7 separate regions of the Homo sapiens genome follow, and all the other regions are linked to region 2. Evidence: promoter capture Hi-C in human tissues and cell types (Jung and others, 2019). All regions are on one chromosome and are shown on one strand. The core of a region is centred on a gene start or on the middle of the fragment in contact, and the rest is flanking DNA. Distances in the headings are between cores, read along the strand shown.

Region 1 (3,739 bases), core at 891-3,390, 200 kb before region 2:
CAAGATTGTGCCACTGCACTCCAGCCTGGGCAACAGAGTGAGACTTTGTCTCAAAAAAAAAAAAAAAAAAAAAAAAGAAAAGCATTCTTGGTGTAGCCAGAGGTCTATGGCAAATAATCCACATGCATATTTTAAAATATTGCCTTCTATTTTTTTTTCCCTCTGGTAGAAGCCCCAAATTACCTACAACAGCTGCGTTTTCAGGTCACTAGTGTGACAGAGCCGTTTTCCCATATCTGCTATTCCCTTTTATCTATGGTAACCGAAATCCAAATTACAGCTGGGCACATAACCACCCAGAATTAAGGTAACATTTCCCAGCCTCTCATCCCACCAGGTATGGTCTTATGGATTAGACTGACCAACAGGATGTGAGTGACTGATGGTGGGCAACTTCCAGGCAGTGCCCTTAAACAGATGGGACACATGCCCTCCCTCCCTCCTTCCCCTTCTCCTTCCCATGAGTGTGAATGTGATTGCGGAGGTGATGAGCCATTTTGGACAATGTGACGTCAATGCCCTAGTGATGTAGATCAATACACAAGAAACCTGTATCCGTGACACCACTCGGTTGTGCATAAGAGAAAAATATTTCCATCTTATTTAAGCTGTTGTTTTTGGTTTCAATTACAGAAGCCCAATACACATCCAAAGCCAAAATGACAGAAGGAAATGGAAGAAAGGCCACTGAAATGCAGAGTCAGTGCACCTAAAGAGGCCCAGAGAAGATGTGGCCTTTATTTTGCCCCAGTAACAACTGTGCATGGAGCCCTTGACCCTTACAGAATGCTGACCCTTGAAGTGTAAATGTCTAGAGCCTTCCTTGTAAATTACCCAATGTGAAAGGAGGCTCTGCTTGGACAGGGCTGTGATCCTTCCTCCCACCACACTGTGGGCAGTTCCAGTGGCGCTCGGCCTTTCTGCTGCAGTTCACTGTATAAATGTGGCATTTCCAGGGAGATAGATCAGTACAGGAATCTGTAAATACAATTTGCTGATTCCAAGTTTCGTCTGCAGGTCAGTCACTTGAGAAATTAATGGGACAGTCTTAAAGGAGAGAGTTTCACTTGTAATGACTTTGAGAAGACAAAAAGGGAAGTGATCTGAGATAGTCTTTCTTAGGTTAATAAATCATGATGTGACAGATCCCATTCCTCACATGCATAAAATCCTCAAGGACAATGAAATACAATGGACATTAATTCAGGCCTAAGTCACTGGAAGGAGAAATTCATGTAACACCGAAAGTAGGATTTCTACTTTAAATCATTTACAGATGAGAGGAGGAACCTTCTATTTGTTTTAAATTCTGAACTTCACAGTGACCCAATATCACAGTAAAAATTTCTATTCCGATCAGTTAAAAACTGGAAATATTAAGTTTGACTTAAAGAAGAACTTACTATATACCAAGATAAGCATTTTCCATAGATTATTTAATTCTCATAAAAACTTTTTTTTTTTTAACAGGTGAGAAGCTGGAGCATAGAGCACTTCACTTGTTAAAATTAGTAGCTAAGCCAGGACATGAGCCCAGGCTGCTGGGCTCCAGAGCCCACCTCTTCCCTGAACTGCGTGTTACAGGAGACACAGATTAGTAAGATTTACATTTGGTAAACGAGCAATGTGGGAGAAATGGATATGCTTAGTGGTATGGTTTGACTGTGTCCCCATCCAAATCTCATCTCAAATTGCATCTCCCACAATTCCCACATGTCATAGGAGGAACCCAGTAAGAGCTAATTGAATCATGAGGGTAGGTCTTTCCCATGCTATTATAGTAATAGTGAATAAATCCCATGAGATCTGATGATTTTTTAAAAACAGGAGTTTCCCTGCACAAGCTCTCTCTCTTTGCCTGCCACCATCCATGTAAGATGTGACTTGTTCCTCCTTGCCTTCCACCATGATTGTGAGGCCTCCCCAGCCATGTGGAACTGTAAGTCCATCAAACCTCTTTCTTCCCAGTCTCAGGAAGCAGCATGAAAATGGACTAACACACCTGGCTAGGGACACACAAGACAGAGCAATACAAGCTTCGTAACAGAAGTGTAATGTGTCCTCTCAGTACAGAGGATAAACTCAATTTCAGGAGCCAGGGAAATACATAGGTTGGAGTTGCCTCTGCCCTAGAAAGATATACATAAGGGGCACCCATCCTCATTCACTACCAGCCCTGCCCCTCCAGGGTGGCCCAAATCCACTTTCTCTGTTGTGCAAGCTCAGCTTTCCTCTGGGGAATAATTTTCTCCATCCTTGGTTCAGATGATCCTTAGACAACCTTTAGGATGTCTCTCCCAAACCTGAACCTAATTTAATCTGTAGGGCATAAGAGGCTGGAAATAAAAGACTACAGACAGAGTCGTTAAAAAGGCTACTAAAATATTTCAGCCTAGAGATAAGAGCATGGAGTTGAAAAATGAGGACAGATTTTTTTTTTTTTAATGTTGGGGTTAAAATCTGTAGGACTTCCTAACACACTGGATATACAGAATAAAAAAATCAGAGAAGTCCAAGACTAGAGATTTATTTTTGTAGAGCTGCCTGGGGGATGAGGTTGCCATGAATGAATATGAATTAAATCAGAAGAGAGCTAATTACAAAAGATTTTTACAGCACAGAGTTGGGGATGACTAGAAGGTATTACATTCAGTTTGAACATGCTGCTTAATATGTTTTAGGCTATAGGCAGCTCCAGGGCAAGGCAGGGCATGGAGCTCTAGCGACGACCTGCAGCATGGCAGATGAAGCCAACAATGGATAAATGCACCCAGGGAGGGACCAGGTGCTGTGGCTCACGCCTGTAATCCTAGCACTTTGGGAGGCCAAGGCAGGCAGATCACTTGAGGCCAGGAGTCTGAGACCAGCCTGGCCAACATGGTAAAACCCTGTCTCTACTAAAAATACAAAAAATTAGCGAGGCATGTTGTCCCAGTTACTTGTGGGGCTGAGGCAGGATAATTGCTTGAAACTGGGAGGCGAAGGTTGCAGTGAGCCCGAGATCACACCACTGCACTCCAGCCTGGGGCAACAGGTAAGATCTGTCTTAAAATAATTCCTTCTAGCTCATGTTTCTTTTTTTCCCCTGAGGATGGAGGTGTACTTTTTTTGACCTATACTTTTTCTCTGAAAAAAAAATAGCCATTCATGGAACATTTCACACTTTCATATAACAATTACGTAACTGTGATTAACATGGTTAATCACCGTTTATGTACTTTGGATAATCGGTTTGGATAATTATTCAGACCCAGAGAATTCTTGAGCAAGGGGAGACCTTAACAGTCAAGTCCAGGGCCTCTTTTTTTTTTTTTTTTTCCAGAGCGGGAAACAGAGGTTCAAAATAGGAAAGTGATTTGTTCAGGTTCAGACAGCCAGTTTGTTGGCATCCTTGACATCACTTCCCTGACTAGCTCTTCCCTTTTTAACTCTCTGGCTTCTTTACTGTGCCCAGTTAGGCCACGTGGACATCTCCCCAGCCATGTCCTTGGCCCACGCCATCCCTGGGTGCTTGCCTTTTTTTTTTTTTTTTAAGAAACTTGTCTTGGTCATTCCACACATTGGTATATGTGAGCAGCTATGACTTGGAAGTGTTTTTGCAAACACGTGGAAAAGGAAGATGACCCTCTGACCCTCTGATGTGCCTTTAGATGTGGCACGCACAGTAAGTTCGGTATGACAGCCCAAGATGTACGAGGGGGCACTGCGGCCGCCCTGGTTCTCCAGGCAACTGCCGCTC
Region 2 (4,243 bases), core at 1,707-4,206:
GGATCTGTCTAAATAGGTCTGCATGCGTCCTGGGGATGAGGACACTGGTTTCTTACAGCAGTGCTTCAAGATTTTATGCATCTCTCATTAAGACAGATTCTGATTTAAGAGATCTGGGGGCAGAGGCCCAGGATTCCAACAAGCTCCCAAAATCATGCTGTGCGGCTGGTTTCCAGATGATACTTGAGGTAGTGAGGGTATAAAGGGCTAGGACAATCAAGTCACAAACTAAGGAAAATAATATCCTCTATTCTTGGGATTCAAGAAGAGTAGATTATAGAAACAGGATAAGACCAACGGAATACAGAGAACTCTCGACTTCCATAGAGAAAATAGATCTAAAAACAAAATCTAAGATCTTTTCATATACACAAGGATCAACACCACTTTCAAGCTGAAAGCATCGTTTCCCATTCCTTTAAACAAAGTTCTTTATTCTCCTTGATATAAAATGTCATTTTTGCGAGATCTCATAGCAATTTGAGTAGCTATTAGTGAAAACACATGCCAAGGTGCTGCTAGTGTCTCCTGTTCAAAGAGTATAAAAGAAACACCACACTGCTTTAAGAAGTCTGGAAAAGATGACAGTAATGGCATTAACAAACAATCAGGCACCAAATGGTTTCTGAAAATCTAACATGCATTCTGTAACTGTCACTGATTTATGTGAAGTCCGACCTTCAGGGACTGAAAAAATGAGCAAACCATCTCAGAGACATTTCCCATGTTAAATTCGAGGCTTTATACTGTGCTGATAGGAAAACAATGTGTCCTAAGAAACACTGTGGTCGTGTGGATGAAAGACACGGCTGGAACCAGGCAAGCAATCCTGCTGCCAGCACCACCAGGTCACTTCACCAGCTCGGTGACCTTGCTCACCCAGTTAGCCTCTTTAAGTCTTAACCTGCCAATTGAACATACTCCTTTCTCCTCTACTACCTCTCTCATTTTGTTCAGCATTCACCCCCCGCACACGCCAAGAGAAAGGAGCCTTTCCTAAGCCCAAGGAGTGACTTGATTTGCCTGATTATTGTCCCTTCACTGCCAACAACAGATTTAAGAGCAGAAGTACGCGATGTAACTGATGGTGCTTTTGCACCCATAAACTGACAGCCGTGGAACCACTTGGTCTGAACCTTTGGGTATATGAAATGCTCTCACCTGCAAGAAACGCTATGATTGATTCACAGGCTACAACCTTATAAGGAATAAAACATTGTTTTCTTTCAAGTTCGTTTCTAGGGACTGCTGCGTTACCTTGTACTACTCAGTATTTATCCTGGCAACCCGAACAGAGCATGTGAGTCTCCAGAGACAGTCAGGTGTGGGCATATGATCACATTACCTTGTACAGCGCCTCTAAAACGCAGATATCCAATAAACGTTTATGGGTGCATGTTCCCCTATCCAGTGAGAGCACTGGAACAGAACCAAGAATTCAATGGTGAAAAACCTAAATCAACCCTCATCTCCAAAAGGCTGCAAGCAGAACAGTGGTTCTCTCCTTTCAGAGACAAGAACCACCTGGGGAACATTTTATAACTACCGATTCCCTAGCCCCATCCACGCTTAGTTTTAACAAGCACCCGGGTCACTCATTTAACAAATACCCAGGTGAATCTGTGGCCCACATTTTTAGAAAGACTTTTTTCCTCTGCCCCAACAATCTTTTTGTTTTCACTCAACACAACCACTCACAATCCTCCCCCTACTTTTTTGTCCAGAGGCCGTGACAGCCACACTCTGCCCCAACAGAAGGTCAGAAGACAGACAAGTGCCAAGAATTGCCTTGTTGACGCTGTACTTTCAAAACAAAACACAAATACGAAAGCAGCCACCCGTGTTTGCTATGCCCCACTGTTTACACCCAAAATCCAATCCAATCTCCTTCACAGACTTCCACACAAGTATTTCAGGGAGCGGCAACCATCCTCAGGATCTCAGGGCACACACCCTAGACGCAAAGTCAGTTGCTCAGTGTTGCTCTGACTCCGATCCAACCAACCCTCAAAGATTCGCACCGCGCGGCACGCACCCAGCAGGTTCCAGCGTAAAAGCTGCTCCGGTCCCAAGCGCGTCTCCAAACCCCTCCTTTACAGCGCCGCCTCCCCAGCCAGCCCCGGTGCGCAGTGGCGAACAGCCCGCAGAGCCCCCAGGCTTACCTGTAGCATGTGGTGAGCTCGCCTGAAGACTTCAGACACGGGTATTTAGTCGTCGCGATTTTGCTCTCTGAGCAGATTTCTCTATGAAAAAGTGCAGAGGAAATGTTCGATTCTCAGCGGGAGAGCGGAGGCGGGCAGCGCGCGCTGGGGAATCCCTGGCGCGTGGGGATCGCCAGGCTCCCCGTCCCGGCGCTCTGGGCAGGGGCTGGTCCCCAAACGCGTACGCGGGGCAGACTCCGGCCACAGGGACGAGCCACGCGAGGGTCACGACGAAGCGAACCAGCTCCAGGAGAAAGGAAGCGGGGTTCACGAGCTGTGCCAGCCAGTGTGGCACCCGGGGGGAGGCAGGAACGCGGGGCGAAGGGTATCCCTGACGCGACCCACGGATGGCAGGGCGCAAAGGCTGATACCCGGGAGCGGAGGGAAGTGTCGCCCAGGACAGCTGAGCACTCTCCTTATCCCCGGAGAAGTGAGGGCGTGCGGATCGCTGTGGGAGTGGGCGCCGGGGAGGACCGCCCGCACCCCGCGAGCCGGGCGCGCATCAAGCAGGAGCTCGCCCTCCGCTGGGGCTTGCAGCGCTTACCTGTCGCCGTCCTCCGGCTCCTCTCTGTAGGTCCACGTGTGTCCCAACGCCAGGAGCAGCAGCAGCGGACCCAGGCTCCTGCCCAGCTGGCCCCTGGCAGCTCCTCCCCGGCTCGGAGGCGGCGGCACCATCAGGGAAGCTCCCGGCTTCTTCCCAGCGCCGAGCTCCGTCCGGACCAAGCGTCCTGCTCCTCCGCGGCCGCCGCCGCCTTCCCTCTTCCCGGCAGGGGGCGCCGGAGAGCAGGGGCGTTTGCACCACCTGCACGGGGAGCAGGGGTCCGGAATATTATGGGGCTGGGGGGAAAATGAGGCTAGGAGTTGGGGTATCGGATGCAAACCCAGCAGAGAAGCAGGTAAAGGGGGTACCTGCGGTGTCCGGCTGGCGCGAGGGCCCTGAGGTTCAAGTTGTCTCGTCGGGACGTTCACGTCCGATTGACAGACTTGCTGGACTCGGCTTGGGGCTGCGCCCTCGCCTCTTCCCTCTCCCTCCTCTGGGAGAAGCGCGCAGGGTGGGGAAAGCGGGCGGTTGTTTGCATTTTGCACCAGGGTCTCACGACCGGGAGGAGGAGGAGCTGATTCTCCACCGGGGAGAAGAGGGAGGGGGAAGAGAGGGGTTAATAAGCTTCCTTCCTGTTGTCCATGGGTTTCTAAAGCCCAGGGTCAGGCCAGTGTTCGTCTTTCCTCCGTGAGGACCTACCCTGAGATTTGCAACTATCTTAGTCTTCTTTTCTCTTAGATTATGTGAGGAAGGAGGAGTTGAAAGGCTACAACGGGCCTCTCAAATTGTTCAAACCTGAAATAGCGCTATTTATATAGTGTAATCACTCTTCCTTAAAACCTTTAGAAGAAAGTTCTCTGGTTGTTTCATTGGTCAATAAACCATGCGCTGTCTTCTTCATAACTCGAGTTCGGAACAAGTAAGGAGGTCTTTCTGGGAGCCTTACATCTCCTTGTCCTGAGCGGCTTTAATACTGTTTCCACGCCGCGCACATCAGAGCTGGAAACGCCCCCCCCCATCAAATGAGACACGTGGGGGCAAATTAATTACAGGTGCTGCTACCTGCTAGTGTATGCAGCCGCGTTGATAGGTAACAAGAAAACGGAGGAGGGGGGCCGTAAATCGGCTCCCTTGACGGTGACCCTAATTGTAATTCGTGTGTCAGCAACTTAACACTTTGTTGCGCTTTAGGAGTTTTCTCAGCCTTTTCCAGAGAAACTGGGGACGTGGATGTGGCCCAGAAATAAGTTGAAAAAGGAAAAGTTCTAATGCCTAAGCTCTAAAATATGCGTGGTTCTGCATCTCACAGGACAACGAGGTAAAAAGGTGGCTTGTTCACAAGTGACCGGTGTGTAAATTGGTTAGGTAAGCACATATTTTGATATACAGAATATGCTGGTCAACTGAGAATTACCACACATATCACATACACATTGACTTTTTTTTTTTTTTGAGACGGAGTCTCACTCTGTCGCCCAGGCTGGAGTGCAGTGTCTCGATC
Region 3 (4,181 bases), core at 1,531-4,030, 150 kb before region 2:
CTATAAGCTTAACACTAGATATGAACTATATGCTGAATATTTGTAGATTTTCCAATGAAAATAGCCTTTCGTTTTCATTTGCATTTCTTTGACTAATGAAGTTGTGTATTTTTTGTGTTTATGAGTCATCCCCATTTCATCAATAAACTGCCTGTTCGTATCTGTAGTAGACTGTTACACGGGGGCTTCCCATGAATCACCCCTCATATTCACACTCTAATGTTATCACCTCCTACATTGGCTCTGGGCTTGGCCATGTAACTTCTTTCTGGTCAACAGTGAATTAGTCATCATAGCCCAAGCTGAGGCTTGATAAGGGTTTGTACAGTGGGGTTTTTATCTTTGTGTAGCTCCCTCTTAGAACCCTATGCCATTTCACAGAGGCCCAGTCCCCTGCAGGAAAGGCCATATGAAGAAAGAGCTGAACAACCATTTGAACAAACTATTTGAAGTGGTTTGTTCAACAGCAATAGATAAAAGAAACAAAATCCTTGATCTATTTTTGTATTTTCTTACTAATTTGTAGAAACCTGTTATAGTTAAGAAATCCAAATCCCTTCCCACATTATATCTGGTAAATATTTTCCTTAGTCTGTTCTTTGCATTTTAAACATGTTAATCTTCTATATGGCAAAAGTGACATAGTCAAATATGTTACTTCTAGGCTTTGTGTCTATAGTAATTTAAAACAATCTTTTATCTAAATCAACAGAACTTTGAGTTATCCATAGCAATCTCATCCAATCTGTGGAGCTTGGCCATTCTTTTTCTGTTTTTCTAGCAGTAAAACAGATTAAAAGAAGAAAGGTAGGTGAATTTGTTAGTAAAATATTGTAAAAGCCCAGGTGAGAATTACATGGGGTTTAAAGCAGGACCATCAGGGCTGTGGTTAGAGGAATGGGAGAGAGAAAGAGAGGGGGAGAGAGGGGGAGAGAGGGGGAGAGAGGGGGAGAGAAAGGGAGAGAGAGGGAGGTAGGGAGAGGGAGGGGAAGAGAGGAAAGGAGAGAGAGGGGAGAGAGAGGGAGGGAGAGGGAAAAGGAGAGGGAGAGAGAGGCACAATGGCTCACGCCTGTAATCCCAGCACTTTGGGAGGCTAAGGCGGGCAGATCACCTGAGGTCAGGTGAGGGGAGGGTTATCTGAGGGGAGCAGGGAGGTGGAAAAAATAAGACAGAGCAGTCATAGATCTGGAGTTCGAGTTGACCTTAGAGAAAACAGTAGAGCTCCTGGCAGAAATTAAAACTGGGCAAGTTAAGTTGATTTGGGGGATAAGACAAAGAGCCCTGTTTTCAAGATGTCAACTAGCAGTTGACATGTCCAGAAGGCAATAGCAGACAGAAAATTGGCCCCAGGGAGAGGGCAGCTTTGAAGATTCTGATTAGGGCATCATCAGCCACAAGAACAGAGCAATTTAAATTAGCACAAAAAACTGAAGGTGACAGATGACCAACATCTCACAGCTCATTAAAAGCACTCCTGGGACGTGGATCACACACCTGATAAAGATTTCAACACACAAAATATTTGCTTTGAGCTGAAGACAATTTTGGTCTAATGAGTGCTGACAGTACTTCTGGCTACACTTCATGAAATGGTCGAGACAAAGGAAATGTATGCAAACAGTGAGACCTCCAGTGGTGTGGGCTACGTCTGGGCGGCCCAGAAGCATGCTGACAGAAGCAGAGTGCTGGGGCACTAGGAAGGCTCTTCCTGCTTGGCTGCCACAGCTGATTCAGCAGGAGAAAACCGAGATCATCCTGTTCTCACAGGAAAGTGCAACCTGACCGAAATAAGAACACACGGGCATTTTGGCCAGGATTTTGAAGAATTTTACTTTCACACACTGCACTTTTATTCTCCTTGTGGTTGGAATGAAGAAATAGACACTCAGTGAATTGAAGTGCTTTAAAGAACCGAAAATGTGGTCACAGTGCCATCACGTGATGTGAACTATCTGCTGGATGAAATGTTCAAGAGTGCTGGAGAGAGACCAAGAGTTTATCCAAGACAGTCTCGTCTTATGAGTAAGACAACTGAGGTCCGAGATCATATCACTGGCCAGTGGTTTGTTGGGGCCAAGACTATGCCCCTTCACTCTCACTCAGTGGTCTTTCCTTTAAAAGAAAGATATCTTTGTTAGGAGAGCAGGTGGGAACATTTGTACTGACATGAAGACAATAAAATTATATGGATACTTTCTGATTTCTCTGGTTTCCATTATTTAAAGATAGTGAGTTATATCTAAAGGAAAACTTAAGAGGATGGCTTTGATCTTCCAGCCTATGAAGGAGGTGGGTTAGGGTGAATAGAGATTGCAGGGTGTGGCTAGGTCATCAGGATTCCTTTCAAGAACAAGAACAGAGCAACTTAAATTTCCTGTGATCTGACAAGACGCAATCATATAAAAAAGAAATCTAGGAAGCCCTCCTGAGAGACCCTACATAGGGAAAATCAGCTGCTGTCATGCAAATGAAATCACCAACTGACCAACCCATTGCAGAAAGCCCTTACAACCAAGAACACCACAAGCAAAGAAATACACTTTGGGCCAGGCACAGTGGCTCATGCCTGTAATCCCAGCACTTTGGGAGGCTGAGGCAGGCAGATTACCTGAGGTGTTCAAATAGCCTACCATACATGTAGGCTATATGGTGTGGCCTATGCTCTCAGGCTACAAACCTGTACATGTGACTAATGAATACTGTATGCAATTGTAACACAATGGTAAGTATTTGTGCATCTAAACATAGGAAAGTTACACCTGAGGCCAGGAGTTCAAGACCAGCCTGGCCAACATGGCAAAACCCCCTATGTATTAAAAATACAAAAATTAGCCGGGCATGGTGGCGCATTCCTGAAACCCCAACTACTCGGGAGGCTGAGGCAGGAGAATCACTTGAACCTGGGAGGCAGAGGTTGCAGTGAGCCAAGATCATGCCACTGCACTCCAGCCTGGGCAACAGAATAAGACTCCGTCTCAAAAAAAAAAAAAAAAAAATTCACTTTGCATGGTGAGGGTCTTCTTTTCACTTGGATATATAGACCACACCGTGTTTCACATGTGATCAAGTATAAAATATTCCACACTGCAAAATAGCAAGGTATGATTCAAATATAGCAGTGTTCTAGAAATGTAACATTGGTAAAAAATAATGCATCAGGATGAATGCAAATTTTAGCTAAGCCATTCTTCTTATTCTTCTGTTTTTCTTATTATGCCATCTCCTAAAGAATTTCAGGTCAAACTCCAGTTTGAAGGAGCAAATGATACAAATGAGCACCCCACCAAGGGCTATAAAAACAGGTCCCCCAACGCCAACCGAATTAAGAGCGTCTAATATTTTATTGCAGTAATTGAAGCTGATTTTTAAAATAAACTCCATCTGGTGCACCGGGGCTCAGGAAGGTAACCTCTGTCAGTCAGGTGATTAAGACCTTGGGAACAGCAAAGACCTTACTCCAAGTCCCACTGACTTCTGTTAATACCTGAGCAACTGTCAGGAGGGAGATGCCAGAACACACCAATTATTATATGATGAACAGGCAGGCCCAGCAGTCAAATGTGCTGCAGTGATATAGTACCCAGTTGGGCAATTAACTTGTCCCTAGCAAAATTTGTGGACAACAAAGCACTTATAATCTACAGCTGCTATCCACATTGGTCAGTGATTGCACTGAAATTGATTCTTCTCAATAGGCATGGGGTAAAGAGTACAGCAATGTGACATTAGTGGCCCACTCATTTTGCAGAGTCTGCCCATTATCCTCCCCATCATGCAGATAAGCAAGCTGAGACTCAGAGTAATTTGCCCAAGGATACAATAGAGGACCTTGTGCCAGATGGTTGTTGGACTGCTGCCTGGCTTTCTCTGGAGCCAACGGGCAAGGACATTATTGGAATGGGCACTTTCAGGAATCCTTAAAGCATCTCTGGGTCCAATCCGGTTTGCTTTGTTTATCCCCAGCTTTAGCTTGTTTACACAAAAGTTACCTGGAGACTGTGTCATCATTCAAACCCTATAGATACCCAAGCCAGCAAAACCACCACAAGCTCTGGAGCAGCCTCTTGGTGGGCAAGCTTCCTCTAATTCAGGGATTGGCAAACTATGACCCATGGACCAAATCCAGTCCACTGCCTGTTTTATGAATAAAATGTGCTGGAACACAGCCATACTCATTTGTT
Region 4 (4,330 bases), core at 541-3,040, 190 kb before region 2:
GGGCTGATTTACTAAATTACTAAATTACTCATTATTAATGAGCTGGGTGAGAAAAGGAATAACTATTTAAGCGACCCAACATGTTTTCAAAGCGATGTCATGGGGATGGTCTAAGGGGAAGGCCAGGGAGGGGAGTGGCTGTGCACATTTTGTTGTACAAGGACACCAGGCTGCCAGAGGCGAGAAGCCAGCCAAAAAAACATCACGGAACCCAAACACCAAGCTGCACTGGTGCTGGGAGTTCAAATTGTGAAATGTGAGCTATCATCATGGCAGATCCAAATACCGCCAACACTGGGAAGGCCAGCTGCAAAGAGGAGGAAACATCTTTTCCTTTGATTGTGAGAGACAAATCTATCTGGGTATCTATTTTTCCTGCAAGTCCATTGATCCTTGCTGCTGTGTGAATGGCAGAGGATGCTGGGGCCATTAGCCATATTTCACTGTGTGCATGAGTTCTGACAGAGGGAGCAGGGTGCTATGTTTATTAGGATTTAATGATATTTGCAGTTCAGAATTCTGCCACCTCTACTGTTGTTATGGAAGCTCATTAACTGAGACATTATCAATTGTAAGATGCACCATTAGTCTTTATAATATGAATAATTTTTAAGTTGCAAATTGAACTTTTTTTTTTTTGAGATGGAGTTTTGCCCTTGTCACCCAGACTGGAGGGCAATGGCGTGATCTCAGCTCACTGCAACCTCTGCCTCCCAGGTTCAAGTGATTCTCCTGTCTCAGCGTCTCAAGTAGCTGGGATTATAGGTGCCCGCCACCACACCCAGCTAATTTTTGTATTTTTAGTAGAGACGGGGTTTCACCATGTTGGCCAGGCTGGTCCTGAACTCCTGACCTCAGGTGATCCACCTGCCTCGGCCTCCCAAAGTGCTGGGATTACAGGCAGGAGCCACCACACCCGGCCAGTTGCCAATTCAACTTTCATAAATGCTTCCTTATCACTAAAATTCTTCCATATTGATTAAAATACATTTTTTCCTGATTATTGTATATTGCATGCATGCATAAAGAAACATAGACTAGTTAAGATGGTCTTAAAATGTCTTTGCATATGGATTCTGATTCTCCTGAATCTCTCTTACTGTCATCAGCTCCTGAGCTTTATCACAAAACACTGTCCTTTATACCATCAGGAGCATCGGTGGTGAGAGCTACCAGTCATTAGTACCAGCCCCATTCAGCTGGCTCTGGAAGGACCTAGAGCCTATGTCTGACCCCTGCTCTGAGAATACTGCTGAAGACAAGGGATTCACCACTCCCTACCAGAGTCCTGTGTCTTCAGGACTTTCTTTCCAGCAGCTGAAACCCTGACTTCGTTTTTATGCTGCTATGTTTGCTGTTTGTGCACTTGCAAGTACTGGCAACTATACCCTAACTGGTGCCTAACTAACTGCCAATAAAAACACATTCCAACTTCAGAGATACAAAGATACAGAAGACAGAGAAGTTCAAGACGAGCAGTGGAGCACTGATGATGGCACTAATTGATGGCATTTAATCAGAATGATAACGATTATGTTCTAGTTCTAGAGAACTTGACATATTCAGAGCTCCTGAAAGGCCCTTGCCCACATCACACTTTAGAACCTCTTGCTCCATCATCAGTGAACACCAGCCTTGAAGAGATCCATTTACAGTTGGGCTGAGCCAATCAAATTTGCTTAGGAGGTTTGAAAGTTATTTTATGGATACACAGCAGATGTACATATTTTCTTACATTCATATAATGTGTAAAGATTAAATCTGGGTAAGTGGGATATCCATCACCTTAAACATTTATCTTTCCACGAGGAACATTCAAATTATTCTGTTCTAGCTTCTTTGAAATGTACAATCGATTATTGCTAATTATAGTCACCCTGCTGATCTGTCAAACATTAGGTCTTATTTCTTCTAACTGCATATTTGTAACCATTAACCAACCTCTCTTCATAAGAGATTGATGTCATCAGCAGGCTGTTGTGAGCACAACTCTACCCACTCTATAGCTGATGTAGCCATTTGGGGGAATCCATGTAAGTTGAAAAGCACAGGAACATGATCAAAAAGAGGCAAAATGGAACAGACTCGGAATCCATCGAGAGACAGAACAGGCATTTCATGAGACGGAGAAAATGACCTTAGCCCTTGATTTCCATTTCTTGTTCACATGAGGCTCATGTATCCTTCATTTTTTGTTTTTGGGCTTAATAGTTCCTCTGTAGCCATATGATAAATCTTCTTTTTCACCTGAGGTAGTTTACACAAGTTTCTACTTCCAGCAATCGTTAAGAGCTACAGTAGCGGTGTGATATGGAAGGAAGGCAGGAAGGGAAGTGCTGGGAAAGGTGTGGTCCCTTTAAATGATACCAAAGAAGCGAAGTGCTGGGTAGAGAAGGGTGTGGTCCCTGGCTAGGGCTCCATCCCTGGGCCTGTGCCCAGGGTCTAATTGACCTGGTTAACACAAGCCACCTATAGATGGCAAAACTGAAAGAGCACATGATAGCACATGCCCACTGGGGCTTCAGGAGCTGTAAACATCTACCCCTAGACACAGCCGTGGGGTTGGAGCCCCACAACCTGCCCATCTGTATGCTCCCCTCAAGGTTTGAGCAGTGGGGCACTGAAGCAAAGAGCAACAGTGCCTGCTGCATGCCCTGCAAGGGGGTACAAGGGAACCTTTCTAATTTCAGCAGGAGTTAGAAACCCCACTGCCCTCAACTCATCCATTAGAGGAACAGAATTAAAGAATGTGCTGGCCACGTGCCATTCCCTGTATGACAGACAGAGAGGCACGAAGTGCTGAGCGCCTTCCTGTGGTGCTGGCAGGCCCAGGGCAGGAAAGACCCCATAGTGGGGAGTCTCCACTCTCAGGGACTTTCTCAGGGTCCTGCTCTTAGAAACAGCACACTGTCTGCTAGATGACATGGAGCTGGCTGGCTGTTGATGAGGAAAAGGGTATTATTGAGATATGTGTTTAGGGAACAAATCCCGGGTAAGACAAAGAGCAGGCCCACGGCTCTCACTGGAGGGTGAAGATGTGGGAACATCAGCACCCCTTTCCTCTTACCTCCCACTCAGAGCCCATCCTGCACCCACAGCCTGAGAAACCTGGGCAGGAGACATCAGAGCACCTCTACGACAGGAGGGAAAAAAGAAAATGAGACTTCTTTGGAGGATGTGTGGTTTTCTTAAAGCAGAGGGTGAGGTTTGTCCATTTAAGAAAATTGAAAGAGCCCAGGAGCAGTGGCTCATGCCTGTAATCCCAGCACTTTGGGAGGCGGGTGGATCACTTGAGGTCAGGAGCTCGAGACCAGCCCAGCCAACATGGCAAAACCCCATCTCCACTAAAAATACAAAAATTAGCTGGGTGTGGTGGCAGGCACCTGTAGTCCCAGCTACTCGGGAGGCTGAGGCATGAGAATCGCTTGAACCGGGGAAGCAGAGATTGTAGTGAGCGGAGATTGTGCCACTGCACTCTAACCTGGGTGACAGAGAGACTGTCTCAAAAAAACAAAACAAAACAAAAAAATTCAAGAAAGGGCACAGGTGCAGGTGTTGGGAAGAATTAGCGGGAAAGTAATCCAGGCCCCAAAGGAGGGACAAGTCCAGGTACTGAGGTGTCTCTCTTGTCTGGCTGTCCAGGAAAGGACGCTTTTCAACTGTATACTTCCTTTGTGGCAATTTCTCAGGCTGCTCAGGCCTAACTTCAGTGTGGAACTTCCGACACCACAGTCAGGTAAGTCTGGAGGCAGGTGGCAGGACAGGTGGCCAGCTCCTAGTTCCATCAAGGAAGACAGGGGTGATCTGCTGGGTGGGAACTTTTGGTGGCAGAGATAGCCCATGAATCTCGAGGTGACAGAGAAGATAGCTTCTGGCTATCCTGAAAATTAGCAATGGCTACACTTTAGAGAAAACGGGGACGGGCCTGGCAATGGTAACATTAGAGGGCTTATCTCAAGTAGTGCTTTGTACCTCATATTAGAGACATGGAAATGGGGGCTCAGTGCTGGAGTTCAGACTCATGTCTGACTGGCTCCAAGCCTGTGCTCCTTCTGTTATGCCCGGCTGTCTCCCAGGAAGCAGGGGGAGAGAAGACCCCCTATGCCACACTTGGGCCATCACGGGCTAGCTACTGGAGGAACAGGGGACTTGCACAGCTCTGCTGATATGCAGTTCAGCCTGCAGGGACCCCAGTAGCCACAACGAGAACAGCAGTATCATCACCATCTTGCATGGGGCCGTGGCTTTACTATCCTTTCCAATGAACCCTCATATACACCACACCATATGCCTATCGCAAATTTGTAAAGTCAGTTCATAAGCCCTTCAA
Region 5 (3,919 bases), core at 1,030-3,529, 220 kb before region 2:
CTCTTCCATCCCACTAGCAGACTGTTTCAATAGCAGCTGCAAGCCGGGCATGGTGGCATGTGCCACCTCCGGAGGTTGAGGTAGGAGGCTGGCTTGAGGCCAGGAGTTCAAGACCAGCCTGGGCAACATAGTGAGCTCCTGTGTCTACCAAAAAGAAAACAGTAGCAGCAAAATCCAGCTTGTATTTTTTCCAACACTTGCAAAATCAGCCTCACTATATCCCATTTCAGAGACATCAGCACCAGCCAGCCATCTGGTAGCCCCTCCTCAAAGGTCTGGGTCCCTGATCCACTAGTAACTTCCTCTGAGTTCTGAGAAATAGGGCTTGCTAGCCAGTACCTCTTCCTCAGAGTGCTGGGTCCTCCAAACTTCTAAGTTTTCACTGGCCCAGTATCTTCTCTTTGTTTCCCTAGCCTAGAGGCGGTAGCTGCTTCCTGCAGTTGTTACCTCAATGATACTTAGTTTTCCTTTGCATTTTTGGTTCTCAATTACTAGTTAGCAATTCTTCATATTAATTGCTTTCTGTTAAATAAGTGGTGAAGGCTCTGTTTCTGGACAATTCAATCTACATATTCAGTTTTCTACAAATTGATCACTGATTCATCACCAGAGATCCCCTCAATTTTGCGAATCTCTTCTTATAGACATTTTTTCAAATTAATCTCAACTTGCTCTAATTAGGACTCTGTAGGTCTGCTGCACAGCAGCTACTACTCTTGGTCTTGAACTCCTCAAATAATCCTCGTCTCAGCCTCCCAAAGCGCTGGGATTACCAGCACCGCGCCCAGCCTACAGCTGCCTCCATGAATGTGCATTCACCATGAACCTAGGGATGCCCATCACCTCCCTCTCTCTTTTGTTGGATTCCTGTTTCCTGGATCTCTCATGTATTAGTCTGTTCTCACGCTGCTAATAAAGACATAGCTGAGACTAGGTAATTTATAAAGGAAAGAGGTTTAACTGACTCACAGATCCACATGGCTGGGGAGGCCTTACAATCATGGAAGAAGGCAAATGAGCAAAGTCATGTCTTACATGGTGGCAGACAAGAGAGAGCTTGTGCATGGGAACTCTCATTTATAAAACCATCAGATCTTGTGAGACTTACCACCATGAGAACAGTATGGGGAAACTGCCCCCATGATTCAATTATCTCCACCTGGCCCTGCCCTTGACACGTGGGGATTATTACAGTTCGATGTGAGATTTGGGTGGGGACACAGCCAAACCATATATCCATGTCTTTCTCTCTTCCAGTTTACTCCCTCATTTTAGTGGAGAATATTCTCCATTGGCTTCCTGAAAAATGTCATAAAAGGGGTAAAAGTTTTGAGATCATGCATGTCTAAAATATACTTTATCAACCCTTATGATTACTACTGATAGTCTGTGTATATAATTCTAGGTTGGAAAACTTTGCCTCAGAATTTTGAAGGCATTGTTCCATTGTCTTCCAGCTTTTCAATGCTGCTGCAGGGAAGTCCTGTGAGATTCAAACTCTTGAGCTTTTGTATGAATCACATCTTTTTTCCTCCCTAAAAATTTTTAGGACTTATATGGTACCACTTCAATCTTTGGTAAACCCTTTTTATAATCTGGAAATTAATATCCTTCAATTCTGAAGACTTTTTGAATTATATCTTTAAGAACTTACTCCCTCTGTGTGGAATTTTAAATTATTTGGATGTTGCATCCCCTGGACTTTATGTCTAATATTCTCATCTTTTTTTTTCCCTATTGTTAATTTCTTTGATCTCTTGCTCTCGTGCTTGGAAAACTTCTTCAGTATCACCTTCCAACCCTCCCACTATTTCCGCCCTCCACTACTCACCATCCAACCCTCCCACTACTCCCCCCCTACTACTCACCTTCCAACCCTCCCACTATTTCCTCCCCCACTACTCACCTTCCAACCTTCCCACTATTTCCTCCCCACTACTCATCATCCAACCCTCCCACTATTCCCCCCTACTACTCACCTTCCAACCCTCCCACTATTTCCTCCCCCGACTACTCACCTTCCAACCCTCCCACTATTTCCTCCCCCTACTACTAGTCTGCAGTGTCTTGTTCCTATGTTTATGTCCATGTGTGCACAATGTTTAGCTCCCACTTATAAGTGAGAACATGTGGTACTTGTGTTTTTCTCTTCCTATGTTAGTTTGCTTAGGATTATAGCCTCCAGCTCCATCCATGTTTTTGCCAAAGATATGATTTCATTCTTTTTTATGACTGTGTAGTATTCCATGGTGTATATGTACCACATTTTCTTTATCCAATCCACTACTATGGGCACCTAGGTTGATTCCATGTCTTTGCTATTGTGAATAGCACGGTGATGAACATAGAAATACATGTGTCTTTTTGGTGTAATGATCTATTTTCCTTTGAATATATACCACTGCTGGGCCAAATGGTAGTTTCCCTCTAATATCTGATGATCCTGAGACGGCTGCTCTAGTTTATTCACGGTGTATTTAAAACAGATTAATAGAATCTGTTTGCATATAGTTTTATGATTTTATGACATCTGGGTATCACTGTAAGTGATTTGGCCAGTGCATTACAAGTTCAGTTTCTTAAGACCTTTTCCTTGGGTTGTCTAGAATGCCCACAGAAGACATTTCCAAATCCTTGCCTGAGAGTGAAGTCATTCTGGAACTCAAGTGAAGGGAGAAGGCTGAGGGCTTCAAAATTCAATGTGTGAGCATTTACCGAAACCCTCCTTTTTCAGTACTGGGCATTCATTTTCAGCTGACTGGTCTCCTTCAGATCCTTGAACCTCTGGTGTACTCTCTTAGAAAATATATCTTCTGTCTTCTGTCTGGTTGTGGAAAAGGCAATATCCTGTCTGTATGGAGCAGAGGACAAGATCCAGGAGTCTGACTTCTTCTTAAACTTTTAATCAATCCTGTTTTCACACTACTTTTACCCCTTTTTCTAGTTTATTTGTAGTGTTACTGATTACTGTTTGTTTTGGTGTAAATTGGGGTTGCTCCTTGGTTTCCTTAAGCTGGCTACAATTCAACCTTTTGGATTGTGCTAAGCTATTTACCACCTCCCTCTCTGTTCTCCAGCTTCCAAAGTTTTATTGCTATTATCTCCTCTTCCCATTTTGTCCTCGTGGGTTTGTCTTTTGTGAATCTTTCCAGCCTCCTCCTCCTGCCCTGCCCATTTTGTGCATTTTCTGGAGGAGGCAAGATTAATGAATTTATTCAGTCCTCCATTTTTGATGCTTGTTCCCCAGAGCCTACCAGCTTTCAGTCATGTAGCTTTTATCTTTACAGTGTATCTATTTTCTATCCTCTCTGTCCTATTTCTTTTGGCACCATTCTAACTCAGACCTTCAGAAACTCCCTTGTAAACAAGATCTTCATCCCAAGATTCTTACCATCCCAAGATTAAATCCATTTGGGATAACACTGCCAGGCTAACCTTCCCAAAGCATAGCACTGTGTACACCATCCCCTTGTTTAAAAACCTTTACAACTTGCTACTAATCAACATGAAATATAAATGGTTCGCTCCTGTATTTAAGTTCTGGCATTATATCCCTTGAGACTTTTCTAACCTTGAGACTTATCTGTAAGTTCCTTATACTGCAGCAAAACTAACTTCTCTTTTTCTTCACCCCTTATTCACATCCTTGCCTTCTCACCTCCATACTTTTGTTTATTCTGTTTTTACCTCTTGCAATGTCCTTTTATAATTGTTGATATCTTATCCAGTTTTTCAAGAGTTGATACAAATGCTACCCCTTCAAGAAGCCTTCCTTGACCTCCTCAACAGAGTTTAGTTTGTCTACCCTCTCACCGCCCATGGGACTCTATACCTCTTTTATTCCCATGCTCTGCTATATTTATTTATTATTTATTTATTTTTTTGAGATGGAGTCTCGTTCTGTCACCCAGGCTGGAGT
Region 6 (4,041 bases), core at 1,013-3,512, 130 kb after region 2:
GCAATGGCACGATCTTGGCTTACCACAACCTCTGTCTCCCAGGTTCAAGCGATTCTCCTGCCTCAGCCTCCTGAGTAGCTGGGATTACAGGCATGTGCCACCACACCTGGATAATTTTTTTTTTTTTTTTTTGTATTTTTAGTAGAGATGGGGTTTCTCCATGTTGGTCAGGTTGGTCTCGAACTTATGACCTCAGGTGATCTGCCCGTCTCGGCATCCCAAAGTGCTGGGATTACAGGCTGAGAAGACCTCCTTTTTCCAGGCTTTAGGCATCATCACTAAAACCTTTGGGCACCACTGAAATCCTGAGTGATGTGCAGCTGATCAAGACTGGAGTCAAAGTGGGAGCCAGCGAAGCCACACTGCTGAACATGCGGAACATCTCTCCCTTCTCCTTTGGGCTGGTCATCCAGCAGGTGTTTGACAATGGCAGCATCTACAATACTGAAGTGCTTGACATCACAGAGGAAATTCTGAATCCTCACTTCCTGGAGGGTGTCCGCAACATTGCCAATGTCTGTCTGCAGATTGGTTATCCAGCTGTTGCCTCCGTACCCCATTCTACCATCAGTGGGTACAAATGAGTCCTGGCTTTGTCTGTGGAGACTGATTACACCTTCCCACTTGCTGGAAAGTTCAAGGTGTTCTTGGTTGATCCATATGCCTTTGCGGCTGCTACCCCTGTGGCCACTGCCACCACAGCTGCTCCTTCTGCTGCTGCAGCCTCAGCTAAGATTGAAGCCAAGGAAGAGTTAGAGGAATTGGATGAGGATACAGGATTTGGTCTCTTTGACTAATCACCAAAAAGCAACTAAATCAGCCAGCTTTATTTGCAAAACAAGAAAATAAAGGCTTACTTCTTTAAAAAAAAAAGTATATTTAAAAAAAAAAATATATATATATATATATAGCCAATTCGTGAAATAATTATATTTCATTTTAATGAAAAAAATTGGGGGGATGTTGTTCCACTTTATCTATTTTTTATTTTACTTTTTATTTTAGACTCAAGGGCACATATGTAGGTTTGTCACATGGGCCTATTGCATGATGCTGAGGTTTGGGGTATGATTGATCCCGGCACCCAGGTAGTGAGCATAGTACCCAATAGGTAGTTTTTCAGTCCTTACCTCTGTATGTCCCTCCCCATCTAGTAGTCCCTCTGGTAGATGTCTATTGTTCCCGCCTTTATGTCCATGTGTACCCAACGTTTCTGTTTGTTTGTTTGTTTGTTTGTTTGTTTTTGAGACAGTCTCGCTCTGTCACCCAGACTGGAGTGCAGTGGAGCAATCTCGGCTCACTGCAACCTCTGCCTCCTGGGTTCAAGCGATTCTCCTGCCTCAGCCTCCTGAGTAGCTGGGATTACAGGTGCCTGCCACCACATCCGGCCGATTTTTGTATTTTTAGTAGAGACGGAGTTTCACCATATTGGTCAGGCTGGTCTTGAACTCCTGACCTGGTGATCCACCCACCTCGGCCTCCCAAAGTGCTGGGATTACAGGTATGAGCCACCGCGCCCGGCCTCATGTGTACCCAGTGTTTAGCTACCACTTATAAATGAGAATATTTGGTATTTTTCTGTTTCTGTGTTAATTCACTTAGGATAATGGCCTCTAGCTGCAACCATGTTGCTGCAAAGGACATGATTTCATACTTTTCATGGTTTTGTAGTACTCCTTGGTGTATATGTACCATTTTCTTTATCCCGTTCACCATTGATGGGCACCTAGATTGATTCCATGTCTTTGCTACTGTGAGTAGTACTGTGATGAACATACAAGGGCAGGGGTCTTTGTGGTAGAATGATTTGTTTTCCTTTGGATATATAGCCAGTAATGGAATTACTGCTGGGTTGAATGGTTGTTCTAAGTTCTTTGAGATATCTCCAAACTGCTTTCCACACTGGCTGATTTAATTTTCATTCCCACCAACTGTGTATAAGCCTCCCCTTTTCTCTGCAGCCTTGCCAACATCTGTTTGCTTTTTTTTTTTTGTTTTTGTTTTAGTTTTTACTTTTTAACCTATTTATGCTGGAGATTGCTCTTTTTTTTTTTTAAACTAGACGTTGGGCAATGACCTTGAGCTGTAGGATATAAACAACTTCCACAAGCTTAGCGTTCCAATAATGGAACACTAGGCATAAATGGCCTAATAATAGCCATTCTGACTGCCATGAGACAGTATCTCACTGTGGTTTTGATTTGCATTTCTCTGATGAATAGTGATGTTGAGCATTTTTTCATGTTTGTTGGCCGCTTGTATGTCTTCTTTTGAGATGTGTCTGTAAATATTAATACTATCTTGAAAGCAAGTTCAGCACTCCCCTTTATTTGAAATTGATTCTTGGGTCACATCAATGGGAGCCCCCAGCTTGAGGTTAAGTTCTTTATACTTATACCACCAGAATCAGTCTTCCTTCAACCAGTGGCTTGCTTTCCACACATTTCAGAACATGAGATGTTCCAAAATATCACTCAAAATAGGCCTTTTGGTCTACGTGGACACACAGGTAACACTGAGGCCACTTTTTGTCATTTTTTGATGACCCACCAATAGCAGCAAACCACATATACAAAGATTGATTTCTGGCAAGTAATTGCAAGTCTAGCCACACAAACCTATTGAAGATAATTGTTCTGAAACCTCAGAAGCCAGAGAAACAGAAATGTCAGAGGTGTTCAAACCAGAGCGACTCCATCTTGAATAGGGGCTGGGTAAACTGAGGCTGAGATCTACTGGGCTGCACTCCCAGGAGGTTAGGCATTGTTAGTCACAGGATGAGACAGGAGGTTGGCACAAGATACAGGTCATAAAGACCTTGCTGATAAAAAAAAGAGTTTGCGGTAAAGAAGTCGGCCAAGGCTGGGCGCAGTGGCTCACACCTGTAATCCCAGCACTTTGGGAGGCCAAGGAGGGTGGATCATGAGGTCGGGAGTTCAAGACCAGCCTGACCAATATGGTGAAACCCTGTCTCTACTAAAAATACAAAAATTAGCCAGGTGTGGTGGTATGCACCTGTAATTGCAGCTACTCACGAGGTTGAGGCAGGAGAATTGCCTGAACCTGGGAGGCAGAGGTTGCAGTGAGCTGAGATCGAGCCACTGCACTTCAGCCTGGCAACAAAGCGAGACTCCATCTCAGCCAAAAAAAAAAAAAAAAGAAGTTGGCCAAAACCCACCAAAACCAAGATGGTGATGAAAGTGACCTCTGGTCATCCTCATTGCTCATTATACACTAATTATAATGCATTAGATGCCAAAAGACACTCCCACCAGCGCCATGCCAGTTTACAAATACCATGGCAATGTCAGGAAGTTACGCTATATAGTCTGAAAAGGGGAGGAACACTTAGTTCTGGGAATTGCCCACCCCTTTCCCAGAAAACTCATGAATAATCCACCCTTTTTCTAGCATATAATCAAGAAATAACCGTAAGTTTCCTAGCTGAGCAGCCCATACTGCTGCTCTGCCTATGGAGTAGCCATTCTTTATTCCTTCACTTTTCTAATAAGCTTGCTTTCACTTTACGGATTTGCCTCGAATTCTTTCTTGCACGAGATCCAAGAACCCTCTCTTAGGGTCTGGATTGGGACCCCTTTAGAGTAACAGAAAGACTGAAGAAAATAAAGGGGACAGCAGATAAATAGAAAAAGAAAAATAGACAGTGTTGAAAAAAAAAAGCAGCAATTTCCATTTTTCTAAAGTAAGAGTGGGAATGAATGATAGATCCTCTGAACAAAAAATAAAAAGAAATGTAAGGGGTGCCGGCCAGAAGGCGACAATTTAATTTTACAGACAGTAAAATAGGCCAGGTGTGGTGGCTCATGTCTACAATCCCAGCACTTTGGGAGGCCGAGACAGGAGGATTGCTTGAGCCCAGGATTCTAGACTAGCCTGGGCAACATATGGAGACCTCATCCCTACAAAAAGTTAAAAAATTAGCTGGGCCTGGTGGTGTGTGCCTGCAGTCCTGGCTACTTGGGAGGCTGAGGAGAGAGGATTGTTTTAGCCCAGGATGCAGTGAGCTATGATCACACCACT
Region 7 (3,748 bases), core at 461-2,960, 230 kb after region 2:
CTGCCAACCTAGTTCTCACTGTGTGCTTGGGAGAAGGATTCCTACTCTTGGGTTTCTGTCCCTTCTTCCCCACTCTGGTGTGACTTCCTTGAGGTGAGCCATCTCTGCCTCCTCCATGAAATAATTGAACCAGAGAAACTTCTCAAATGTGGGTGGATTTAGAAAAAGATACGCGTGTGAGGAGAATGATTGAACACCTTGTATATGGGGTGATGCAGTGGTGGTCCCCCGAAGCAGTAACTGCTGTAGTAGCCTTCCCCGTTGGGCCCTGATGCTGCAATGTTGTGTGAACTTGGACCAATTAATGTTACATTTCAATGTTCTTACTTGAAAAATAGGTAGTGTAAAATCTACTGCACTAGCTGGATTAAAAGCAAAATTTCTAGTTTCATAGGTGGAAGTTGAAGCAAGATGTTTTTCCTCTAAGTGCATGGGGCCTTTATACAGAGAAGCTAGCTGCATGGAATATGAGTAAAACAAAAACCAATTCAAACGCTGCTTCCAGTCTGTTTTAGTTTAGCAGGAAAAAAGACAGAAGGGAGAAAGAGGCTGCAGTTTTCCTCCACTTCATTAGTGACCTGGGGAAATGGAGGGGGCACTATTCCAGCAGCTTACTGGTGCCTGAAATGTGTTGACTCACAAAACTTTTGATACCAAATGTGTGTGGGTTTGTTTTTCTTCCCCTCACATTAAGCAGTTCTCTAGTTCTTCGGACAACTGGGTGATCTACAATTCCATTCAAGTCTGATAATTATTACCTGGAGTTAGTGCAGGTCCCATAGCTAAGGGCTCAGTCCCACAAGATTGGCCTCACTTCAGATGCCAATCGCATGTCCTGAGTTGCCACCTGCACTTTGGTTCTGATTGGCTGGCTATAAATCAGGAGTTTCCATGCCCTTCTCCTCATGTTTGAGAATTTGATGGAAAAACATGGGAAAACCCTTTACTTACATTTACTGGTTTGTTATAAAGGATACAACTCAGAACAGCCAAATGAAGAGACACACAGGGCAAACTATGGGGAACGGGTGCCCCATTCCCCCAGCACCTCCATTAAGTGCTGGATGGTGACGAAGACATACTCAGTCCCTCTTCTAGTGGCCAGGGTTGTAATGCAGAGTAAAATCTGAAGAACCCCTGTAAATTGTATGCTAAATTAAGCTTAAGTGAGCACATACTATTTTCTAGGGCTCAAGTCCAAAGGTTTCATTAAATTTTTAAAGGTCTCCTTGGCTCATAAGAGTTTAATGATCATTCGTTAGAAGTAGATGAAAAGCACCCCAAATTATCTTATGTTTCCCAATTCATTTTATGAAAGCTAGCATTACATTTTATAAAAGCCAATAAAGATATTTCAAAAGTAAAACTATAGGTTGATTTTACTTATGGATATAGGTGTAAAAGTTCTAGAAAAAATATTCACAAACCAAATGCAGTATTACATTAGAAGAATAGATATTGGTGTGACAGTTGGAGCTGAGGAAACCCAGTGGAGTCTTTGCATTCTCCACTCTGGCTGGTGGGTGAAGAGATGGCCTGAAGAGTGGCTGGTTGCTGCAACAGAGTGCTATATTGAAGTTCTGGAATAAGAATTGGTTTGACCTGTGGTCAGATGGTACCTGACCTATTATGATGACCAGACTTGGCAGAGTGTTGAGGATAAGGTCCGCATGCAAGTGGAATGCCTCAATATCCCTGCCAGGCAGGAATGTCGGGATAGTCAGCCTCTGCATGGAAAGTCAAAAGACTGCAAACTGCCGGGAGTGGTGGCTCATGTCTGTAATCCCAGCACTTTGGGAGGTCGAGGCAGGCGGATCACTTGAGGTCAGGAGTTCGAGACCAGCCTGGCCAACATGGTGAAACCTCGTCTCACCTAAAAATACAAAAATTAGCCAGTCATGGTGGCACGCACCTGTAATCCTAGCTATTTGGGAGGCTGAGGCAGGAGAATTGCTTGAACTTGGGAGGTGGAGGTTGCATTGAGCCGAGATTGGGCCACTGCACTCCAGCATGGGTGACGGAATGAGATCCTGCTCCCCCCCAAAAAATGTATAAAATATATATTATATATTGTATAATAAATAATACTTATATATTATATAATTATATTTAAATATAATATACATTAATATTTAAATATAATTATATAATATATAATATTCTTATTAAAATATGTATCATATATAATTTATATATATGATATATATATATGGAAAAAGACTGCATGCTGCAGATTGTTTGCTCAGATGGGAAAACAATTAGTCTTTGTGCAGAAAACACAGTGATTGCTTGGCTTGGAAATTTACACTCCAAGATTCCAGGACAAACACAGCCTATGTGGGCTCCACAGTCATGACTGATGAGACACCCGTGGTTTCCTCCCCTCCACCACACACGGCCTATGCTGCACCAGCCACTGAGGAATAGGGCTATGAGCCATACAGTGGTGTGTGCCTGCCAGGAACTCAAATTGTCTATGCTGCTAATGGACAGGCGTATGCTGTGCCCTACCAGTACTCGTATGCAGGACTTTATGGACAGCAGCCTGCTAACCAAGTCATCATTCAAGAGTGATATCGAGACAATGACAGTGACCTGGCAGTGGGCATGTTGGCAGGAGTGGCCATAGTCATGCCCTTAGGGTCTCTATTCTTGGTCTTCTAGAGGCCGTAAGGTCTTGATGTGCCTAGCTCCTGATAACCCTGTGTGCAGTAATATGATTTACAGGGCATTTCTGTTTGTGACAAATGTTTTTAATAATAATTTTAATCGTTCCTTTGAAAGTAGTGACATCATAATTGTAACTAATCCACATAAGTACCACAGAGAAAGGTTTGAACTGTGCTATTTTTTTCTTTTTTCTTTTTTCTTTGAGATGGAGTCTAGCTTTGTCGCCCAGGCTGGAGTACAGTGGCGTGATCTTGGCTCACTGCAACCTCTGCCTCCAGGGTTCAAGTGATTCTCCTGCCTCAGCCTCCCGAGTAGCTGGGATTACAAGCACGTGCCGCCATACTCAGCTAATTTTTGTATTTTTAGTAGAGATGGGGTTTCACCATGTTGACTGGGATGGTCTTGATCTCCTGACCTTGTGATCTGCCCACCTCGGCCTCCCAAAGTGCTGGGATTACAGGCATGAGCCACTGCGCCCGGCCAGAACTGTGCTATTTTGTTCAAACACGGGCTCTCCAGGGGCACTGGCTCATTCTAGGACTGTCCTTACGGAAGTCTCGGAATACTTTATTTGAGCCTAGCTGTTTTGAAAGGCATTTTCTTTTTAGAGTTAGGTGTAGTGCTTAAGGGATAATTTATTTTCATGTTATGCCAGTAATATAGCGTTGTATGCATCATGAGTGATTGTGGCAAGAAAATCTACAGCTCCTTTCTGTTTAACTTTTTCAAGCCACAGACCAGAACTGGTTGCATGTTACCTTAGGAGTTGTGGATTGGTAAGCTTCTGGTTACTTCTCCGAGGCTGTGGTGTGAGAGCCCCCTGACCCGCCTTCTGGGGCTCCACAGGCCCCCAGCAAGGGTGACTCCTCAGGATGAGAGGGCACAGCCAGCCTTTGAAAAAACGATGCTTCAGAAATCTGCGTAACCCTACTGTCTTCTTTTTCTTTCTTTTCTTTGCTTTTTTTTTTTTTTTAAGACAGAGTCTCGCTCTGTCACCCAGGCTTGAGTGCAGTGGCACGATCTAGGCTCACTGCAACCTCCACCTCTCGGGTTCAAGCAATTCTCTGCCTCAGCCTCC

Evidence for each region. Contacts are between HindIII fragments. The study calls those that stand out against the background at their distance.
Region 1: a contact is called between a fragment that was not itself captured here and the fragment with the promoter of CCBE1 in region 2, in 1 of the 25 tissues and cell types used here (heart right ventricle).
Region 3: a contact is called between a fragment that was not itself captured here and the fragment with the promoter of CCBE1 in region 2, in 2 of the 25 tissues and cell types used here (IMR-90 fibroblasts and bladder).
Region 4: a contact is called between a fragment that was not itself captured here and the fragment with the promoter of CCBE1 in region 2, in 1 of the 25 tissues and cell types used here (IMR-90 fibroblasts).
Region 5: a fragment that was not itself captured here is called in contact with the fragment with the promoter of CCBE1 in region 2 in 1 of the 25 tissues and cell types used here (IMR-90 fibroblasts).
Region 6: a contact is called between a fragment that was not itself captured here and the fragment with the promoter of CCBE1 in region 2, in 4 of the 25 tissues and cell types used here (IMR-90 fibroblasts, heart left ventricle, lymphoblastoid cells and 1 more).
Region 7: a contact is called between a fragment that was not itself captured here and the fragment with the promoter of CCBE1 in region 2, in 3 of the 25 tissues and cell types used here (H1 embryonic stem cells, IMR-90 fibroblasts and aorta).

Annotation. Positions count from the first base shown.
Region 1 is chr18:59,492,093-59,495,831 of GRCh38, forward strand. The region is part of intron 2 of CCBE1 (collagen and calcium binding EGF domains 1); the gene reads right to left. Among named protein-coding and RNA genes, the nearest start is that of LMAN1, 130 kb to the left of the region's middle. The HindIII fragment of the contact is 5,575 bases long and covers 1-3,739 here.
Region 2 is chr18:59,694,467-59,698,709 of GRCh38, forward strand. It overlaps CCBE1 (collagen and calcium binding EGF domains 1), which reads right to left and starts at 2,957. Exons shown (of 11, transcript NM_133459.4): 1 at 2,746-2,957; 2 at 2,163-2,243. The coding sequence starts at 2,876. The HindIII fragment of the contact is 11,314 bases long and covers 1-4,243 here.
Region 3 is chr18:59,546,126-59,550,306 of GRCh38, forward strand. The region is part of intron 2 of CCBE1 (collagen and calcium binding EGF domains 1); the gene reads right to left. Among named protein-coding and RNA genes, the nearest start is that of CCBE1, 150 kb to the right of the region's middle. RefSeq lists an enhancer at 1,332-1,845. The HindIII fragment of the contact is 6,701 bases long and covers 1-4,181 here.
Region 4 is chr18:59,509,800-59,514,129 of GRCh38, forward strand. The region is part of intron 2 of CCBE1 (collagen and calcium binding EGF domains 1); the gene reads right to left. Among named protein-coding and RNA genes, the nearest start is that of LMAN1, 150 kb to the left of the region's middle. The HindIII fragment of the contact is 8,998 bases long and covers 1-4,330 here.
Region 5 is chr18:59,471,852-59,475,770 of GRCh38, forward strand. The region is part of intron 3 of CCBE1 (collagen and calcium binding EGF domains 1); the gene reads right to left. Among named protein-coding and RNA genes, the nearest start is that of LMAN1, 110 kb to the left of the region's middle. RefSeq lists a silencer at 688-847. The HindIII fragment of the contact is 7,199 bases long and covers 1-3,919 here.
Region 6 is chr18:59,824,468-59,828,508 of GRCh38, forward strand. It overlaps the pseudogene RPLP0P12. Among named protein-coding and RNA genes, the nearest start is that of PMAIP1, 74 kb to the right of the region's middle. The HindIII fragment of the contact is 4,048 bases long and covers 239-4,041 here.
Region 7 is chr18:59,927,694-59,931,441 of GRCh38, forward strand. The region is part of intron 1 of LOC105372151 (a long non-coding RNA gene); the gene reads left to right. It also overlaps the pseudogene PLEKHB2P1. Among named protein-coding and RNA genes, the nearest start is that of PMAIP1, 30 kb to the left of the region's middle. The HindIII fragment of the contact is 4,531 bases long and covers 1-3,748 here.